2 separate regions of the Homo sapiens genome follow, and region 1 is linked to region 2. The links are contacts of gene promoters, found by promoter capture Hi-C in human tissues and cell types (Jung and others, 2019). All regions are on one chromosome and are shown on one strand. Each heading gives the region's core, a stretch centred on a gene start or on the middle of the fragment in contact. The rest is flanking DNA. Distances are from core to core; before and after follow the strand shown. Region 1 overlaps CCBE1 (collagen and calcium binding EGF domains 1). Region 2 holds the start of CCBE1 (collagen and calcium binding EGF domains 1).

Region 1 (2,818 bases), core at 299-2,798, 46 kb after region 2:
TCCTGAGTAGCTGGGACTACAGGCGCCCGCCGCCACGCCCGGCTAATTTTCTGTATTTTTAGTAGAGATGGGGTTTCACCGTGTTAGCCAGGATGGTCTCAATCTCCTGACCCCATGATCCACCCGCCTCGGCCTCCCGAAGTGCTGGGATTACAGGCGGGAGCCACTGCGCCCGGCCGAAAATCCTTTCTTTAGCTGGGAAAAATGTCTTTCCCATTTGGCTCTGAGTCTGAGCGGGACTCCGAGTGCTCTCTCACAGTGGTAGCTGCTTCTCCTCTTTCTTTCTCTTCATTGTTATAAAATGTTAGTTTTATAGACCTAAGCTTTCTTAAATTTATAGTATTTTATTCTAGGCTATGGAGTTTACATTAAAAAAAAAGGGGGGGAGTCAGTTTGTGTTACCTTTACTGATCCTACAAACCATGCCGAAGGAACTGGAGGAATTTACCCCATTCACCTTTGGGCTCAGGCTGGTCCCTGCCTAAGTGGCAGAGTCCCAACGGTGCTATTGATGAGCAGTACCTGTTGATAATCAGGTGGCATCCTCAACTTGTGTAACCCATGAGTTGGCTGAGTTTTTCTTGATTCTTCGATTCCAAGGCTGAGATTTTTAAAGAAAGGTGTAGTATGTAAGTGAAATGGAATACTATTCAGCCATCAAAATGAAATCCTGCCATTTGCAGTAACTTGGATGAAACTGGAGGTCATTGTGTTAAATGAAATAAGCCAGGAACAAAAAGACAAATATCACATGTTCGCATTCACATTTAGGAGCTAAACAAAAATTTGAACAGATGATAGAGTGGAAAAATAAGAGACTGGGAAGGGTGGGAGAGGGAAGGATGAAAAGAAATGGGTTAAAGATTAAAAACATACAGTAAGATAGAAGGAATAAATTCAATGATTGATAGCAGAGCAGGATGACTATACTTAACAAAGATGTATTGTATCTTGATAATGGACACCCTGAATACACTGACTTGATTGCTACACACTGTATATGTGTAAAAAAATTCTCATGTACCACATACACTTTCACAAAAAGCACTGGCTTTCCACTTCCCTTTCCCAGGACTGATATTTACATGAACTACAAGGTGGGGCCCAGTGCCTTTCTCTGGAGTTTGAAGACACACCGCCACATCACTAGTTCTACTTTATTTGTAGATGGAGCATGTCCTTTTCTCTGACGGTCTTGCCTAGAAAAATGCCATATTTAGAGCTGCAGAAGATTAACTCATTCCCTGTCAATCACGTTCCATCTCAGGAAAGATCCTTGCTAAGGTCTGCTGAGCCATAGCTAACACATTCTTTGATTCTCAGAAGGAAACTAATAGTGCAGAAAAATCTTGATTTAGTTCTGTGAATGACTGCCAGCCTAATCCCTCACAGAAAAAGGAGCTAAACTGAGCCCAAGAGGATGAACCAGCGTTTGGCATGCAGTCTCGTTTAAAAACCTGTCCCAAAAAGGTGGTGGTAGTTTTCCATTCAGAATTGCCTGGTTTTGTTCCCATAACCCGGTGGTATGGACGCTCATTTTCCAATGCCAGCAAGAACTGGGGCAGGAAACCCCAGTGCCTGCAACAACTCATGTGTGTCAACTTGCTTCATGGTGCCAAGGAACACTTCCTAAGTAAGTAGAACGTATTTTCCCTGGAACACATTGTAATTGGTGAGATCCTAGGTTCTTATCTTTCTATAGCTTAGGCTTGTTGCTTCTATTCATACCTTTGAAGAAAGGGAATTGGGTAAAAAGTCATCACAATTTTGGATGATATTAAGAAATCCCACCCTATATCCAAGTTGATTAGCTGGCTGTGGCGAGGAAAAGGTTAGTTCTTAATAAACTTCAGCTATTTACCTTGACCCCTAAGTGATGGAGTTTCTCAGGCTATGCCACAGTCTGTCTGTCTTGAAGCTATGTGGATGATGTTCCTCTCCATTTTCCCTGGCATACAGGCCAGGAAAGGAATCTTTGTTTCCTTATCACTCATCTGTTCCTGCTTCTGCTTGGCCACCGAGGACTAAGCCTATTTCCAACTTCAGAGCCCCTTGCCCAGGTACAGGATCGGTAGGGAGGATGGGCTTGTTCTCCAGTACAACATGCAAGGCAGTGAGAGTGGAGAAATTCATGATGAATAAAGATGTTTGGTAACCAGAAGAGGCGGCTGTAAATTCCAAGCAGAGAGAGACTTAGAGGGAGAAGTGCGGTTCTGGAATGCGTGGTGAGCTTTCCCAGGGCATCAGAAATACTTTACAATTCAAATTCCGGCTGGGATAATAACTTCAGAGGAAATTGCACTTAGTATAAGCTGGTGCTGAGGTCTTCTCTGAAACGATTATCCCGCACACTAACAGGATTAGGTACCTTTTAACGCGCCAGACTTTCTGAACCCAGTCACGTTGGGAGTTTCCCATGGGATCGTGAAAAGCTGAAGGGAACAGGAGGCTAAATGTCATTACATGGAGGAACCTAGGGAGGAAGGGGGTCACTCTAGAGGTCTGGAGCCTCTTCTGCTTGGAGTGGAGAGCTTGGATGCTGCTTTTTGGGTGTGCTGGGCTTGGTCTCTCCCATCTCACCTGACTTTGTATCTGGGCAGGGGTGGACAATGGAAACTGCCTTAGTGCTGTATATCTGTTTATTTATTTTTAAAAGAAACAGTTCCCTCTTATGATTCTGAGAATAATTATGGTTCTGTGAGCAGAAGCTTCTGAAAATTAGTTCTGTCTGTGGATTCTGCCATATTTGAAGTCACACCTGTGGCCTTGAAGCTGGGAACCAAGTGGAGGAAGGAGAGCGGACTTTGGAGGGTGGCTC
Region 2 (3,064 bases), core at 89-2,588:
TGAGGCAGAAGAATCTCTTGAACCCGGCAGGCGGAGGTTGCAGTGAGCCAAGATCGAGACACTGCACTCCAGCCTGGGCGACAGAGTGAGACTCCGTCTCAAAAAAAAAAAAAAGTCAATGTGTATGTGATATGTGTGGTAATTCTCAGTTGACCAGCATATTCTGTATATCAAAATATGTGCTTACCTAACCAATTTACACACCGGTCACTTGTGAACAAGCCACCTTTTTACCTCGTTGTCCTGTGAGATGCAGAACCACGCATATTTTAGAGCTTAGGCATTAGAACTTTTCCTTTTTCAACTTATTTCTGGGCCACATCCACGTCCCCAGTTTCTCTGGAAAAGGCTGAGAAAACTCCTAAAGCGCAACAAAGTGTTAAGTTGCTGACACACGAATTACAATTAGGGTCACCGTCAAGGGAGCCGATTTACGGCCCCCCTCCTCCGTTTTCTTGTTACCTATCAACGCGGCTGCATACACTAGCAGGTAGCAGCACCTGTAATTAATTTGCCCCCACGTGTCTCATTTGATGGGGGGGGGCGTTTCCAGCTCTGATGTGCGCGGCGTGGAAACAGTATTAAAGCCGCTCAGGACAAGGAGATGTAAGGCTCCCAGAAAGACCTCCTTACTTGTTCCGAACTCGAGTTATGAAGAAGACAGCGCATGGTTTATTGACCAATGAAACAACCAGAGAACTTTCTTCTAAAGGTTTTAAGGAAGAGTGATTACACTATATAAATAGCGCTATTTCAGGTTTGAACAATTTGAGAGGCCCGTTGTAGCCTTTCAACTCCTCCTTCCTCACATAATCTAAGAGAAAAGAAGACTAAGATAGTTGCAAATCTCAGGGTAGGTCCTCACGGAGGAAAGACGAACACTGGCCTGACCCTGGGCTTTAGAAACCCATGGACAACAGGAAGGAAGCTTATTAACCCCTCTCTTCCCCCTCCCTCTTCTCCCCGGTGGAGAATCAGCTCCTCCTCCTCCCGGTCGTGAGACCCTGGTGCAAAATGCAAACAACCGCCCGCTTTCCCCACCCTGCGCGCTTCTCCCAGAGGAGGGAGAGGGAAGAGGCGAGGGCGCAGCCCCAAGCCGAGTCCAGCAAGTCTGTCAATCGGACGTGAACGTCCCGACGAGACAACTTGAACCTCAGGGCCCTCGCGCCAGCCGGACACCGCAGGTACCCCCTTTACCTGCTTCTCTGCTGGGTTTGCATCCGATACCCCAACTCCTAGCCTCATTTTCCCCCCAGCCCCATAATATTCCGGACCCCTGCTCCCCGTGCAGGTGGTGCAAACGCCCCTGCTCTCCGGCGCCCCCTGCCGGGAAGAGGGAAGGCGGCGGCGGCCGCGGAGGAGCAGGACGCTTGGTCCGGACGGAGCTCGGCGCTGGGAAGAAGCCGGGAGCTTCCCTGATGGTGCCGCCGCCTCCGAGCCGGGGAGGAGCTGCCAGGGGCCAGCTGGGCAGGAGCCTGGGTCCGCTGCTGCTGCTCCTGGCGTTGGGACACACGTGGACCTACAGAGAGGAGCCGGAGGACGGCGACAGGTAAGCGCTGCAAGCCCCAGCGGAGGGCGAGCTCCTGCTTGATGCGCGCCCGGCTCGCGGGGTGCGGGCGGTCCTCCCCGGCGCCCACTCCCACAGCGATCCGCACGCCCTCACTTCTCCGGGGATAAGGAGAGTGCTCAGCTGTCCTGGGCGACACTTCCCTCCGCTCCCGGGTATCAGCCTTTGCGCCCTGCCATCCGTGGGTCGCGTCAGGGATACCCTTCGCCCCGCGTTCCTGCCTCCCCCCGGGTGCCACACTGGCTGGCACAGCTCGTGAACCCCGCTTCCTTTCTCCTGGAGCTGGTTCGCTTCGTCGTGACCCTCGCGTGGCTCGTCCCTGTGGCCGGAGTCTGCCCCGCGTACGCGTTTGGGGACCAGCCCCTGCCCAGAGCGCCGGGACGGGGAGCCTGGCGATCCCCACGCGCCAGGGATTCCCCAGCGCGCGCTGCCCGCCTCCGCTCTCCCGCTGAGAATCGAACATTTCCTCTGCACTTTTTCATAGAGAAATCTGCTCAGAGAGCAAAATCGCGACGACTAAATACCCGTGTCTGAAGTCTTCAGGCGAGCTCACCACATGCTACAGGTAAGCCTGGGGGCTCTGCGGGCTGTTCGCCACTGCGCACCGGGGCTGGCTGGGGAGGCGGCGCTGTAAAGGAGGGGTTTGGAGACGCGCTTGGGACCGGAGCAGCTTTTACGCTGGAACCTGCTGGGTGCGTGCCGCGCGGTGCGAATCTTTGAGGGTTGGTTGGATCGGAGTCAGAGCAACACTGAGCAACTGACTTTGCGTCTAGGGTGTGTGCCCTGAGATCCTGAGGATGGTTGCCGCTCCCTGAAATACTTGTGTGGAAGTCTGTGAAGGAGATTGGATTGGATTTTGGGTGTAAACAGTGGGGCATAGCAAACACGGGTGGCTGCTTTCGTATTTGTGTTTTGTTTTGAAAGTACAGCGTCAACAAGGCAATTCTTGGCACTTGTCTGTCTTCTGACCTTCTGTTGGGGCAGAGTGTGGCTGTCACGGCCTCTGGACAAAAAAGTAGGGGGAGGATTGTGAGTGGTTGTGTTGAGTGAAAACAAAAAGATTGTTGGGGCAGAGGAAAAAAGTCTTTCTAAAAATGTGGGCCACAGATTCACCTGGGTATTTGTTAAATGAGTGACCCGGGTGCTTGTTAAAACTAAGCGTGGATGGGGCTAGGGAATCGGTAGTTATAAAATGTTCCCCAGGTGGTTCTTGTCTCTGAAAGGAGAGAACCACTGTTCTGCTTGCAGCCTTTTGGAGATGAGGGTTGATTTAGGTTTTTCACCATTGAATTCTTGGTTCTGTTCCAGTGCTCTCACTGGATAGGGGAACATGCACCCATAAACGTTTATTGGATATCTGCGTTTTAGAGGCGCTGTACAAGGTAATGTGATCATATGCCCACACCTGACTGTCTCTGGAGACTCACATGCTCTGTTCGGGTTGCCAGGATAAATACTGAGTAGTACAAGGTAACGCAGCAGTCCCTAGAAACGAAC

Evidence for each region. The method cuts DNA at HindIII sites, captures the fragments that hold promoters and counts their contacts. A contact is called where the count stands out against the background at its distance.
Region 1: a contact is called between a fragment that was not itself captured here and the fragment with the promoter of CCBE1 in region 2, in 5 of the 25 tissues and cell types used here (IMR-90 fibroblasts, adrenal gland, bladder and 2 more).

Annotation. Positions count from the first base shown.
Region 1 is chr18:59,650,043-59,652,860 of GRCh38, reverse strand. The region is part of intron 2 of CCBE1 (collagen and calcium binding EGF domains 1); the gene reads left to right. Among named protein-coding and RNA genes, the nearest start is that of CCBE1, 46 kb to the left of the region's middle. The HindIII fragment of the contact is 5,358 bases long and covers 1-2,818 here.
Region 2 is chr18:59,695,697-59,698,760 of GRCh38, reverse strand. It overlaps CCBE1 (collagen and calcium binding EGF domains 1), which reads left to right and starts at 1,338. Exons shown (of 11, transcript NM_133459.4): 1 at 1,338-1,549; 2 at 2,052-2,132. The coding sequence starts at 1,419. The HindIII fragment of the contact is 11,314 bases long and covers 1-3,064 here.